2 separate regions of the Homo sapiens genome follow, and region 2 is linked to region 1. The links are contacts of gene promoters, found by promoter capture Hi-C in blood cells and fetal thymus (Javierre and others, 2016). All regions are on one chromosome and are shown on one strand. Each heading gives the region's core, a stretch centred on a gene start or on the middle of the fragment in contact. The rest is flanking DNA. Distances are from core to core; before and after follow the strand shown. Region 1 holds the start of CR1L (complement C3b/C4b receptor 1 like). Region 2 holds the start of EIF2D (eukaryotic translation initiation factor 2D).

Region 1 (7,032 bases), core at 2,101-4,600:
TGCTCCAAAAATTGAATGTTTATTTTAATTCATGTATTCTCTCTGCCTAGCATCGTGAGTTCTCATTTTTACTTTCTCTAGGTTTCATACCTGTCTTGATTTAACCCTATCAACCTCAAACTTAACCTTATTTTTCCTTCTCTTCATTTTTAGTTTTGTTATCTTCCATGTTGCACCCTATTCATTTTATAATTCTATGTTCCTCTATTTCAAATTGCTTTCATTATCTTCTTCAACTTCCAGGTTTTTTTTTTTTTTCTGTGTGTGTGTGTGTGTCTGTGTGTGTGTGTGTGTGTGTGTGTGTGTGTTTGAGACCGGGTCTCACTCTGTCACCCAAGCTGGAGTGCAGTGGTATGATTAGGGCTCACTGCAGCCTTGACCATGGGGGCTCCAGTGATCCTCCCCCTTCACGCCCTTCAGCCTCCCAAGTAGCTGGGACCACAGGCATGCAACATCACACCTGGCTAATTTTTTGTTTTTAATATTCTGTAGAGGTGGGCTCTCCTTATGATGCCCAGGCTGTATGTACTTCTAGTACTAAGCCTATTCTAAACATTAATCTTTAAAAAGAAAAAAAAGTCCTTTCGTTTTCTTCTTAACACCACTGCTCCCTAATCCCATCACCCTCCTTCAAAATGAACGTTTTAATGATCAGTGAGATGCAAGACTGAAGTACTGGAAGCCCTGCAGAGTCAACATAAACAGGGGAGACAGATCCTTTCTGGCCCTCAGCTGCTGCTGCCCTAGCTTTTTAGGTACAACAGAAAGACCATCCTGAGCATAGCTCTTTAAAGAACCTTCCTCTTGGAGGCAGGAGGGACTTTTTCCTAGGCTCTAAGCCCCAGCCAAATAGTATATTTAATTTTCTGATATTTAACAGATGTCTATATGGATACTGAGTTAGGGTTCATACAGAAGCAAACAAATGGGGCTTTTGGAACCACAAATGGGGGAAGACAGAAGATTCCTGCATTCTGATGGGGAGAGACAGAGAACAGAAAAGATCACTTTAAAAGGGTGATTACAAGAGGTACTTGAACTGGGTTGTATGTGTTCAACCTGAGTTGGGGGGTTCCAAGAAGGTCTCTGAAGCGGTAACATTCCAGCTGAGCTTGCAGAAGAAACAGCCCATTTATGCAGCAGGTCATGGGGAGAACGTTCCAGGACTGAGGGAACAGAAAGCACAGATGCCCCAAAGTGGCAGAGTTTTGTCTGTTTGATGAGAAGCAAAGCCTTCCCTCCCCCCAGTCATTTGTTAAATGCTGTCAGAAAATTATACTCCTTTCCTCCAGAACACTTCCCTGGTTAATATATTTGTTACTATTATGTTTTGGTTAATGTCTGCCACTCCCAATACATTTTAGCAAACATCTGTTGATTGCCTACTGTGTTCCCGGCATTAAGCACTTAACAATGAGCAAAAAAAGTCCCTGCTTATCTTCCTGCATGTACGTGTGTGTAAACAAATAGTAAAAAAAGGATAAAGAAAATAGGAATTGTCTGTTATTACCTACTAGTGTAACAGCACCAGACATACAAGACCCATATTTGTTGAATGAATGTTCCTAAGAGAAGAAATGCAACGTACAATCTGTACATGGAATAAGATCCTAAATATAATTTGGACATAGATACACATGAAACACAATAAAGTCAGAAGGAAATATAACAAAATATTAAAAACAGTTGTCCTTTTATTTTGTTCATTTTGCACAATAAGCCTGTATTTAAGCATGTATTTTTTGGCTTTTTTTTTTTTTTTTTTTTTTTTTGAGACAGGGTCTCACACTGTCATCCAGGCTGGAGTGCAGTGGCATGATCACAGCTCACTGCAGTCTTCTCCTCCTGGGCTCAAGCGATCCTCCCACCTCAGCCTCTGGAGTAGTTGGGACCACGGGCATACACCACCATGCCCATCTAATTTTTTTATTTTTTGTAGACATGGGGTTTTGACATGTTGTCCAGGCTGATCTTGAACTCCTGGGCTTAAGCAATCACCCAACTTGGGCCTCCCAAAGTGCTGGGATCACAGGTGTGAGCAACTGGGCCTGGCCTAGCATGCATTTTTAAAAATATTGATTCCATTCAATGAAATACAAAACAGTGGGATAGGCCTTAAGCTTCAGTTTATGAGCTGTAGGGGAAAACAAGATTAACATTATCTGCCTTCCTTTGTTAGGATACTAATTTCTCACTAGGTTTGGCTACCAGTGTTTTTTAGGTTGCTTCACATCTCTCAAATATGACTCAAACTAATGAAAAGAAGGAAAACAATGTCAAAAAGCCACTAGGCAATGGAATCAGATACTGTCTATATTGGTTGGGAACAGGAAGATGACTCGATGGCCCACCCACCCCCCAAAAAAGCAGCCACTTAAAATTCAAGACCAATACGATCTCAGGCAACACGGACACTGTTCACAGAAGGCACTAAAAGCATGGTGCGCCCTTACCACCTCTCTAACCCCAGGCACTGAGAGCCTGCTCTCACTCAACATGCCCTCCCTAGCCGCAGAGTCCGCGCTCGCTCCACTCAAAGCAAACAGTGAGCTGTCTTGCCCACAGTGAACTCCGCACACAGGCCACTTGCGCACAGCACGCTCCCAGCAACACCTGGCCAGGCCCCTGCTCGCCCAGCCCAGCCCAGGCCAGCCCAGCCCATGGGGCACAGCAGACGCACTGCAACCCTTACCGCGGGTACTGTCCAAGCCCTAATGAACACCCTACTCACCAAGGCACCAAGGGAACACAGGGCAAACTCTCACCACGGGCACAGCACGGGCTCTAGCAACAATCCCACGCACCTGTGCACTCCAGAGCAAGCCCTCACCTGGGGCGCCCAGTAAGCCCTCCCCTTGCTGACTGGGCTCAATCCCGAAAACACGATTCACGCTTCTTTTGGGAACGCAGCCAGATCCTGCGTAAATGTCGGCCGCGCACACGATGCCACCAAACAAGCTTCTGCGTGGTTCCCGCATCCCCCGCCACATACCCCCGGGATCTGAGCACGGCACCCCTCGGAGAACCCTGGCCTCGCTCTCTATCCCAAGCAGGCACGACGTGCAGTGAGCTTCGCCCCGCGCCTCCTGCCCGACTGACTGAGCAGAGCTCTAGCCTCGCCGCGGACGCGCGAATCCACCCCGGGGTCCTACCGGAGAAGGAGGACAGCAGCAACACCAGGGCCGCCAGAAGCAACCCAGGAAAGCGCCGGGAAGGAAAGGGACGCTCGAGACGGACGGGAGGCGCCATGAGCGGCGCGGGAGACCCCGTGATTTATCCGGAGGTGAGCAGAGAAACCGAAAGCCAGCCGAGCAGGGAAGTCCCTTCTGAGTCCGGTTAGTGGACACAACAATCCCCAAACTCACAGTTTCCAGGGCCGCATGACAGGTGGGCGTGGCCTGGGCGCGTAGTGTGAAATTGAGTCTTAGCGCCGGGGCGGCTGGGGCCAATCGGCGGGCCGCGGGGCGGGGCCTCGGCGCGCAGGGGCAGCCCGTTGGCCTTCGAGGAGACAGGGCGTGTCCAGAGCCCTGGCAGGGGGTTATCGTGGGCTAGCACCCCTCAGGGTTAGTTTTATCCTGGGGCACTGCAGGCTGTCAGGACTGCCTGGGCCCTTACTTGGTATTTGGCATTAGTCAGGCATTATTGGGAACAATATTTGAGTTTTTCTTGCTTGAATGCCTGCTACTGAATCGTCTCGGCGCCGTCTTCTTTTCACAGTCTCAAAGGTTTGGCTTCTGCACTCCCAGCCCCTAAGATAATTTGCCCTTTGCTCCCCTCCCTGGAGAGGACCCGTCAGAATCTAAATTATTAAGCAACACCAGGCCGTTAGCATATTGAGACTCTATGGGACCCTTGCCCTTGAGCAACTAAATGTTTTATTGAAGACGAAATATACATGCATGAACAATGTAAGGACAAGGGTGTCCTAAGTGCCAAATTCCTGGAAGCAATAAATGCAGGAGGATTGGGATGGGTAGAAATTGTTAGGCGAAGTGGATAAGGGGGAGAACTTTTCTGGTGAAACAATCTCAGGAACAATGTTGGAAAATTAAGAATGAGCAGGATTGATTTGTAGGGTTCTGAGTAAGCCAGTATGACTGGTAAAAGGGGGAAAAAAAAAGGGAACATGACTGGCATTAAAAGAGCAAACAAAAAAAGTTGACATCTCTTCCCCTCAGATTGGCAAAGAATTAAAACGTCAGCCAATGTGAGTGAACATGTTGCAGGGGGACCAGCACTCTGTTTGTAACATAACTTTTCAGAATGTTAAAAGTCTTAAAGTGGAAATGACTTGTGTTAGGCTCTCAGTTCCCAGAGAAATCATCAGAGCTGTGATCAAAGATTTATAATTTTTGTAAAAAATGTAAACCCTAAGTGTCTAGCAAAAGTAATAAGGAGGCAGTTACCTTTGTGTGATGGAATTCTATGCAGCAAGTATTGCAAAAGAATACCAAATGTGAGAAACTATGATATCATTGTAAGTGGAAAAAGCAGAGTCCAAATTGGCATGTGCATTTTGGCAGTCCTTTTATTAAAACAAAAATGCTATATATATATATATATATATACATACACTAATTTGGAACACAACAAAATTAACAATGGTTAAGATTATAGATATTTCACTTTCCTTGTGCTTTTCAGTTTTCTTTTTCTATGTTGACCCTATGTTACATTTAGAATAAGGTAAAGAAAATGTATTTTAAAAATCAAATCTATGTATCAATTGTTGTTTTGTTCATAGAATTATGGGAGTAGAACTTGTATTACACAGGGTTTGTATGAGAGGATAGTGAGGAATTAGATGCTTAGTGTATAAACCTAAAATGGGTCTTATGGAATTATAGAGTTTAAATGTATTTAATACAGTTCTATAACTGAGATGTACTGAAGACTTTCTGGGTTCACCAAACCACGGAATTTCCTCTTCCCAAACATTTTCAAATTTTTGGCATAGAATACAAGACATTGAGTCTGGTGGTATATCAAATAAACATCTTAGTATCTTGGATTATAAAATTCAGACACTCTATGACAGTAATTAAAGGAGGTATAATTAAGGGGATAGTAAATAGGAAACTCAATGAGGAGAAATTATTATTCCTGTTAATGTATGGTGTGAAAGAGCAATATGACAGACATGTTCTGTGGCTCAATGCCAGCACTTATTTGTGAAAGCAGATAGTCTATTTATTTTTCTCCACATCAATAGATATTAAAAATTCTCCATTTATTTTCAGGCTTGGAAGAAAGATACCTTTTTCTCATGAGAAAAATTATTATAAAGAATAGAAGAAAAAATATGGCTAGTGTTTGATTTCCTAGTTTCAGGTGTCAGATTAGATTCAAAGATCGGTATTTTATTGAAACTTTCTTTCAATCAGTAAAATTTCCATCCCTGGGGTTAATCAAGCCATTCTTAATATACTCGAAGACTTTCACATTAAATTTATAAAACTAATTTTTATTTGAGTTAACTGAAGCTTCATTTGAATGGTTCTGAGCCTTGTTTCCTATTTTTTGGGATAAGTTCCATAAGTCAGGGTTAGAGCTTTCTTATAATATCTCCAGTGCCAAAATCTGTAGTAAGTGTACAATGAATAGCTGGTAAATATTGGATGAAATAAATGGTTCTTGTGGTCAAGTGCATTTAACATATCTCTGCCAGTTCTCCTCCAGCATGAATTTATTAAATGTCCAGAAATTTCTGAGAGATTTTGATTTAAATAATTTTAGACCCTAGGAAACAAATCGAGATCGGTCTGTAAAATGGATGAGCTACAACTGTCTGCACAGCAAACTTTCCTAAATCAGGTGTTGCAAGCTTACTTGTGAAGTGGAGCTGTGGTCTATCCCTTAGCCTTGAGGTCATTTTAGTGACTGAGTTCAATGTCGACAATGAACTTCCTGAGGCCTTAACGGGTAGAACTTGAAGCCAAAGCTTTGAATGAAGTTGATTTAGGAAATTAATGTTTCCTCCAATTCCCCCTAAAGATTTTGTCAAACTGCCAAAGAGAAGAAAAGGAGAGAATGAGGATATCTGTGTTTGTGGACCCGGTTTAGAACTATGGGATCTCCTTTAAGGGGCTTATGAAGGGCAGTATGGGTGGAGGCTGGTGTGCAGGGATGTCATTAAACTGTGGCCAACTCTTTTAAAATTTGATGTTAGGGCTGGGCGCGGTGGCTCATGCCTGTAATCCCAGCACTTTGGGAGGCCGAGGTGGGCAGATCACGAGGTCAGGAGATCTAGACCATCCTGGCCAACATGGTGAAACCCCGTCTGTACTAAAATACAAAAAATTAGCTGGGCGTGGTGGCGCACACCTGTAGTCCCAGCTACTCAGGAGGCTGAGGCAGGGGAATTGCTTGAACCTGGGAGGCGGAGGTTGCAGTGAGTCAAGATTGCGCCACTGCACTCCAGCCTGGTGACAGAGCAAGACTTTATCTCAAAAAAAAAAAAAAAAAAAAAAAAGAACCATGTTAGATGGTTCTTTGCCTCCTAATTAGTATACTGTATTTACATTATGCTTTTCAGGAGCAAGTGGAGCAGCATGAATGGGCCTCTATTTACACCTGCTAAGCACCTGCCAGCCAACTGACCTTTATGTTTAGCTGTGTCTGATTTTCTTTCCTGTTACTATCAAGAGCATGTCTGTGGCATTACACATCAACACAGGGATTATGAAAACAATCAGGTACAGAACTATATTCCATAAGTAGATTTGCAAAATAAAGTATTTTATTCCTTTCTCATTACAATGGTAGAGACAGAAAATTTCATTAAAGCATCATAAACTTCATAGTACACACTTAAGTGTGCCAAAAAAGCAAACAAAACAAAGAATGTTAGGACTAGCAATAGCTTCATAGGGCAATTGGTGTCCAGCCCCTGCTTTTCAGATGAAAATGTAAGGTCACAGGTTAGCAGAATTGCTTAATAATACAAGTTAGGCAATATAGTATTTTACTCATAGTTAGTATATACAGTATTTATCATTATAACTGATATAATAGAAAAAAACCTTTCAGCTT
Region 2 (7,593 bases), core at 3,262-5,761, 1.0 Mb after region 1:
CTGCCCTAAAATCCTCTGTGCTCTACCTGTTCATCTTTCCCTCCCCCACGGATCTCTTTACTATCTCCATAGTTTTGCCTTTTCCAGAATGTTGTTGGGGTGATCAGACCCAACACCAGGTCGTGGGGGCGACGAAGTCCAGCAGAGTCAAAAGAATGAGAAAAAGACAGTTTGAGAGAGAAAGTGGGACCAGGGGACCATCGTGAGTGTGGAGGCTGCCAAGGCCCCGATTTCTGGGCGTCCATGGCTGCTTATTGGTGCTCAAACAAACAAACAGGTGGTGAAGATGTGGGGGTTGACAGGAAACAGTGTATCAAGTGAATGGCTGCTTGAAATAATGGGTGTGCTAGAAGCAAGGAGCCAGCAAGTCTAGCAGACATGGAAGCCCTGCCTCAGCTGCTCTCCCAACACTCAGCTTTTCTCCCAACATGTGCTCTACCTGTTCATCTTTCCCTCCCCCACAGATCTCTTTATTATCTCCAAAGTTTTGCCTTTTCCAGAATGTTATATAGTTGGAACCATCACTTACATACTATCAGTATGATCTTTTTCAGATTGGCTTCTTTCACTTAATATAATAATACACATTTAAGATTCCTTCATGTTCTCTCTCACTTCTCTCTTCTCTCTCCTTTCTTTCAGACTGAGTCTCACTCTATCGCCCAGGCTAGAGTGCAGTGGCACAATCTCAGCTCACTGCAACCTCCACCTCTGGGTTCAAGCAATTCTCGTGCCTCACCCTCCCAAGTAGCTGGGATTACAGGTGCCCACCACCACGTGTGGCTGATTTTTGTATTTTTTAGTAGAGATGGGGTTTCACCACGTTGGCTAGGCTGGTCTCGAACTCCTGACCTCAAGTGATCTGCCCACCTTGGCCTCCCAAAGTGCTGGGATTACAGGCGTGAGCCACTGCGCCTGGCTCCTGCATGTCTTTTAATGGCTTGATAGCTCATTTCTTGTTAGTGGTGAAGAATATTTCATCATCTGCATGTACCACAGTTTATTTATCCATTCACCTACCAAAGAACATCTTGTTTGCTTCCATGTCTTGTCAATTCTGGGTAAAGCTACTATAAATGACTATGTGTAGGTTTTTGTGTGGATATACATTTTCAACTCATTTATATAAATTCCAAGGAGAGTGATTGCTGGATTATATGGTAAAAGCATGCTTAGTTTTGTGGTAGTTTTTGTTTTGTTTTGTTTTACATTTAGATCTTTATCTGGAATTTCTTTTTATGAAAATATGAGGTAAACTTTCCTCCTAAATGGATAGGCATTTGTCCTGACATCATTTATTGCATCCATTTTTTCCTAGTGGTTGGAAAGCATCATCCACAGACTAAATCATGCAAGGTAACTGTGTGAGCCTGGACAAGTTAGTTAACATCTCTGTACTCCAGGTTTCTCACCTGGCAAAGGGGTTAACAATAACTGCTTACAGCATTGGTATGAAGGTAACATGAGGCAATGGGCATGGACACATTTGAAAAAGTAAAAATCCCGTATCCCTGAATCATCTGTATATGGGTGAAGATAACATGACTCTTTCTGAGGCTGTGAACACACTTGCTCATCTGAAAAGCCATCCAGATCCATCAAAGAATTCTCAAACCATTGGTCACATTTGAAATGTAGATGCCAATGATCCATATTTTCAGGGGATTTGCGTGTGGGCTTCAGTAGAAGGGAAGAGAAGGCTAGTGAAGGAGTAACTAGTAGGTAGCCATGGATGAATTATCAGTTTGGGTACCCTGTGGTCCTATAGACTTCAAGAGGACATAAATACCACTTGTTAGACTGTGAGTTCCTTGAGGGCAGAGTGCTTGTGTCGAATTTGTCTTAAAAATCACAGAGCCTGATTAGAAAGCTTCCAGTTAAGTTTCAATGAATTAAACTAAATTTTCTCCATTAGGACTCACTGGGAAGAGAAGAAAAAGGAAGTCTAAGGAAAATGGAATCTCTCATCTGGCCTACCCTTGCTTCCAAATACTTGGTACTCTTGTAAAGAATCCAATTTACAGCCAGTTGCTATCAAGTATAATTAGTGAAAACGATCCTTTTTCTCAGTAAATGGCAGCTTTCTTGGTATAGTTGCCCTGTGCCTTGCTGCAACTTGGCAGCTCAGACCCACCAGTGGGGAACAGTCTGGGAGCCCTGTGGGGTGGCTCTGGAGCTGCTGATGGAAGGCACAGGAATCAGGGCTTGCTGAACTTAAGGTTCAGGCTGCTTTCCCTGCAATAGGGTCAGCCAGCAGGGAGCAGGCAGGTCTGTGATGCAAGCAGAGAAGGTGGGATTGTGCCCACTGGGGAAGGGGGCTCTTGCTCTACCAAAGAGGAGGCTGGATGCCATGGTGCAGAATCCTCTGGGGTCTTGGCTCCTACTTGTCAACCACTAATTAATTTTTAGGTTTACAATTGATGTTTTCTTATCCAAGGACATCTGGTATACAAAAGTTCCCCTAGCTTAAAATGTTTAGTATTCTCTGAATAGCTTTCCTCTGTTCCCTAAGAAAGAGGCTTCCTCAGCAGCTGTGCTGCAAAAGACCCCAAATGTATTGCACATCCGAAGAGTGGCTAAGTGGGAGGTGAAGGGTGGGTACAGGGGTCTGTTGTAGGCACTGTCCTCCTCTGGGCTCCTTTGACATTGGCCTGGTGGCTGGGATACTTCAGAATAAAGGCCTAGTGGGTCACAGGTTTAGGAGGAGTTGGGGCTGGTCCCTAGGCCACTATAGGTGGTGGGCAAACATTGTAGAAGGCCTAATGTTTAGAAAGCCAGTGTGGAATTCTCCTTTGTGCAACTGCGTCACTGAATCAATTGGGATTTTTTATTGGTGAATGGACACTTGGAAGTTTTAATATGCAAAACATAATTTACTTTTATTACTTAAATTGCTTAATGTAATTTTAATATGCAAGACTTAATTTACGAAGAGCCAGGATTCCGGGTGTTTAAATCCTTGTCTCCAGGGAACACAGCTGTCCCTTTGAGGAAAACCTAATTTCTCTTCCCTGCCTGTGTGACTTTGGGACAAATCTGGGACAACAGTGAATTCTCTATTACTGTTATTACCACCCAAGTAAACTAAAAATCCGGGATGAGAAAAATCTTACAGAAAATTCTAGCTGAGGCTTCTAGCTTATAGTACAATGAATAGACCTTAATCATAGAATGCCTTTAAGAAAAACATTTAGGCCCGACTTGGTGGTTCACACCTGTCCTGTAATCCCACCACTTTGGGAGGCCGAGGCGGACAGATCTCTTGACCTCAGGAGTTTGAGACCAGCCTGGGCAACAAGGTGAGATCCTGTCTCTACAAAAAATACAAAAATTAGCCTGGTGTGGTGGTGCCCGCCTGTAGTCCCAGCTACTCGGGAGGCTGAAGCGGATGGATCGCTTGAGCCCGGGAGGTGGAGGCTGCATTGAGCTGAGATTGCGCCACTGCACTCCAGCCTGGGTGACACAGCGAGACCCTGTCTCCAAGTAAACAAAATAAAATAAAATAAAGAAAAATATTCAAAAAGCCCTCGAGGTTTTTTTGTTTGTTTGTTTGATTTTTTTGATACGGAGTCTTACTCTGTTGTCCAAGGTGGGGTGCAGTGGCACAATCTCGGCTCACGGCAACCTCTGCCTCCTGGGCTCAAGCGATCCTACCGCCTTAGCCTCCCCAGGCATGCGCCACCACACCCGGCTGAATTTTTCTTTTTTCTTTTCTTTTTTTTTTTTTTTTGAGACGGACTTTCACTCTTGTTGCCCAGGCTGGAGTGCAATTGTGCAATCTCGGCTCACCACAACCTCTGCCTCCCGGGTTCAAGCAATTCTCCTGCCTCAGCCTCCCGAGTAGCTGGGATTACAGGCATGCTCCACCATGCCCGGCTAATTTTGTATTTTTAGTACAGACAGGGTTTCTCCATGTTGATCAGGCTGGTCTCGAACTCCCGACCTCAGGTGATCCGCCCACCTCGGCCTCCCAATTCTTTTTCTTTCTTTCTTTCTTTCTTTTTTTTTTTTTTTTTTTTTTTTTTTATTTTGTATTTTTTATGGAGATGGGGTTTCGCCATGTTGCCCAGGCTGGTCTCGAACTTCTGGGCTTAAGCGGTCCGCCCGCCTCGGCCTCCCAAAGTCTGGGATAACAGGCTTGGGCCACCGCGCCCGGCCGAAGCCTGAACTGTTTATCAGTTCAATTATTTTTGCGGAATTGAACCGAACCGAATGGAATGGGAGCTTGCAGAGAGCTTCTACTCAAAGCAGTTCCTAAGGTTGATGGGGTGGAAGGAAATAAACAGAACAGCTATTGGCGTGGCCGAGTCGCTACGGACGGGGAACCCGAGCCGCTCGCGCAGGCGCAGAGCCAGGCCCGCGAGGGGATGGGAAGGTGGGGGGGAGGGGCGTTCCCTGGGCCCTGCCCCTCCCTGCCCTGCTTTAGTTCCAGGTACCGCCACTGGGGGCGGCCGCGGCCTCCCCAGCGGCAACGGCCACGAAGCTGCGCGGCCCTGGTTTCCAGCCGGGCCCTTTTCGCGGCCGGGCCCCAGCATGGCTGCCCCCACGGCTGAGGGCCTGGCAGCTGCTGCGCCCTCGCTTTCTTGACATTCCCTGGCTTCTGTGCTCTCTTCCCCAGGCCACCCCAGCAGACATGTTTGCCAAGGCCTTTCGGGTCAAGTCCAACACGGCCATCAAGGGGTCGGACAGGTGAGGGAGGAAAGGGGCCTGCTCTGCCACGGAACAACCAGACACCTCTTGGGCCCCGCTGGCCCATAGCCCTCGCTATTCTTGGCCGACATCCTCGGGTGGAGGCCGAGGGGTATGCCAGGGAAGGGACCCCAGGAGGCAAGGGTGGGTTAGACACATTTTGAGGTGAGGATGGAGGGGGACCTGGCTCTCTTTTGGATAGTCTAGTGAGTTTAAAAGAAAACGTAGTTAAGTCAGAGTTTACTGACTGCAGACTATTTAAGGTGTTGTGGAGAATGCAGAAGTGAAGGAATACAGAATTCTTGCCCTCCAAAGAGCTTAATGCCCCTTGGGAGAGATCGGATGGGATACCAAGAATTAAAAGTATAAGAGAAAAAAATGACTAGTGATTAATTCTGGCAGGAGAGACAGCTGGAAACTGAGGTGGGAGGGAATAAGGCACATGTGGTAAGAAGAACTGTATCTGTTCAGACAGGGTCACAAATGGAGATTGTGTTTGGAATTTTGTAACCAGTGCTTTATAGTTGTCTATAGGTCTCATGGCATAGTTATTTAATCATAAACTGGCATATTTGCGAAGCATGTATGAGAAAGGAGTGGGCCCAAGGGCTAGGCATGAAGTCAGGAAGGCAGGGCTGTTTCCTGTGTCAGGCTAACTTGGATTGTTCACTGGGCCTGTTTTCCCACCCATAAAATGGGAAGGCATACCCCAGGAATGAGTGAAAATAGATGACAATGGATGAAAAAGAGTTTAGGATGTTTCAGAAGAGTGTGTGTGAGACTAGGACATCATAAACCAGGCAATCTTTCTTTGGCCCTTGTGATTTTATAGTGAGCACTTTTGAGTTCGTTCTTGATATTTATTAAAAGTCTGTCCAGGCAGCATTCACAGTGCTGGTGTGCTTTCCACAGGAGAAAGCTTCGAGCTGATGTGACAACTGCTTTCCCCACCCTTGGAACTGATCAAGTCTCTGAGTTAGTACCTGGAAAGGAGGAGCTCAACATTGTGAAGTTGTATGCTCACAAAGGGGATGCAGTGACTGTGTACGTGAGTGGTGGTAACCCCATCCTCTTTGAACTGGAGAAAAATCTGTATCCAACAGGTATGACAACAGGACGAAGATGGCCATTACCATTAGGTAGTTCTTGCCTAACATCTGCTTCTCTCTGTTTCTTCCATTGTCTCCCATAAAATAAGCAAGCACGAAATCTCCCAATACCATCCCCAAGGATCTTTATGGACCTGGTGTTCCTAGAATTGGGTCTTTCAATTCTAGGATGCAAAAGGTTTTCTCTTATGCAAAACCACTATAGGAGGGATTAAAAAAAGGGCTGACATAGTAAGTAAGGGTGGTTGCAAAGGGAAGTTCTGAGATGAAGGAACAGTGGCTGAGAAGTTTACAGTGGGTTGACTAGGAATAGAGCAGAGGTCTTGAAAAGGATGGAATTTCAGGGCATGTCTTCATGAGACAGAGTCTTGCTCTGTTGCCCAGGCTGGAGTGCAGTGGCGCAATCTCAGCTCACTGCAAGCTCCGCCTCCTGGGTTCACACCATTCTCTTGCCTCAGCCTCCCGAGTAGCAGGAACTACAGGCACCCGCCACCACACCTTGCTAATTTTTTGCATTTTTTAGTAGAGACGGGATTTCACCATGTTAGCCAGGATGATCTTGATCTCCTGACCTCATGATCCGCCCGCCTCGGCCTCCCAAAGTGCTGGAATTACAGACGTGAGCCACCGCGCCTGGCCAAAAATATATATATTTTTTAGAGACAAGGTCTTACTCTGTCACCCAGGCTGAAGTGCAGTGGTGTGATCGTAGCTAACTGTAACCTCAACCTCCTGTGCTTAAGGGATCCTCCCACCTCAGCCTCCTGTGTAGCTGGGACTACAGGCATATGCCACCATGTCTGGCTACGTTTAAAATTTTTGGTAGAGACAAGGTCTCACTATGTTGCTCGGGCTGGTCTTGAACTCTTGAGCTCAAGTGATTTTCCTGCCTCAGTCTCCCGAAGTGTTGGGATTACAGGCATGAGCAGGGTGCCCAGCCTAAAAAATGTTTCTTAAAACTATCTGTAGCAGGATTTTCCTAAAATACTGAAAAGATATACTGTGATAGGAATAAAGCTGGATTGATAAGCTACATATCCAGCTGTTTTCATGGTGTACTTTAACCATAGGTCTCACAGGGATTTTTTAGGCTATGAGTGGCTCTCTAGGATTCTTTGCCTTCTCTGTCACAAATCTCAGGGACTCAGTCTCCTTTTCTCTTTTCCATAGCTGCTGACACCTACTTTGTAACTTGGGGCTTTTCATCCTCCAGGGTTGTCTGCAATAGTGCAATGCAATATCCTTAGGCCACTCCTGCCCCTGATCTCACTTCCTTGCTGTACCTGAAGACAACCACAATGCTTTTTGACCTAGGGGTTTTTGCTGCTAATCACTATGGAAACAGAGGGGATAAAAATGATAAACATGGGAAAGTTTCCAAATTTTATACAGCTGGCTTCCTGTTCTTAGGCTACTTGCTTCTGAAGCCGTAAATAAAAGCTTCATTGGTTCTCTGCCCTCACTTTTTTGTCCACTGTGACCATTTTCTGCTGCTGCAATCCGGATGCCTCCAAATCTCAAGTGACACTCAGTTTCTTAGGTTTTTTCCTTCCTCAAAAATGAAACCTCTCTGGGCATCCCCTTACAACCTTCTCTTTAGCTTTGAGTTGAGTTTCTTTCCTGTATTCTAATTAAAGTGACCATAGTGTTAGGTTTTTCCATTTCTCTAGAAGATTGGCTTTTTGGTAGTAGTGTTTTCTGGATCTCTTTTTGTACAGTGTACACGCTGTGGTCCTATCCTGATCTTCTGCCAACCTTTACAACATGGCCTCTGGTGCTCGAGAAACTGGTAGGG

Evidence for each region. The method cuts DNA at HindIII sites, captures the fragments that hold promoters and counts their contacts. A CHiCAGO score of 5 or more calls a contact.
Region 2: a contact is called between the fragment with the promoter of EIF2D here and the fragment with the promoter of CR1L in region 1, in 2 of 17 cell types (erythroblasts and total B cells). The highest score is 6.2, in erythroblasts.

What each region holds. Positions count from the first base shown.
Region 1 is chr1:207,641,451-207,648,482 of GRCh38, reverse strand. CR1L (complement C3b/C4b receptor 1 like) reads right to left here and starts at 3,350. Exons shown (of 12, transcript NM_175710.2): 1 at 3,153-3,350. The coding sequence starts at 3,249. It overlaps CR1 (complement C3b/C4b receptor 1 (Knops blood group)), which reads right to left. Exons shown (of 47, transcript NM_000651.6): 47 at 6,718-7,032. It also overlaps the pseudogene CD46P1. RefSeq lists an enhancer at 3,241-3,320 and a silencer at 3,381-3,550. The HindIII fragment of the contact is 2,525 bases long and covers 2,961-5,485 here.
Region 2 is chr1:206,609,383-206,616,975 of GRCh38, reverse strand. It overlaps EIF2D (eukaryotic translation initiation factor 2D), which reads left to right and starts at 4,511. Exons shown (of 15, transcript NM_006893.3): 1 at 4,511-4,689; 2 at 5,602-5,792; 3 at 7,517-7,593. The coding sequence starts at 4,634. RefSeq lists a silencer at 4,249-4,458 and enhancers at 4,749-4,818, 7,229-7,288, 7,329-7,428. The HindIII fragment of the contact is 3,738 bases long and covers 1,873-5,610 here.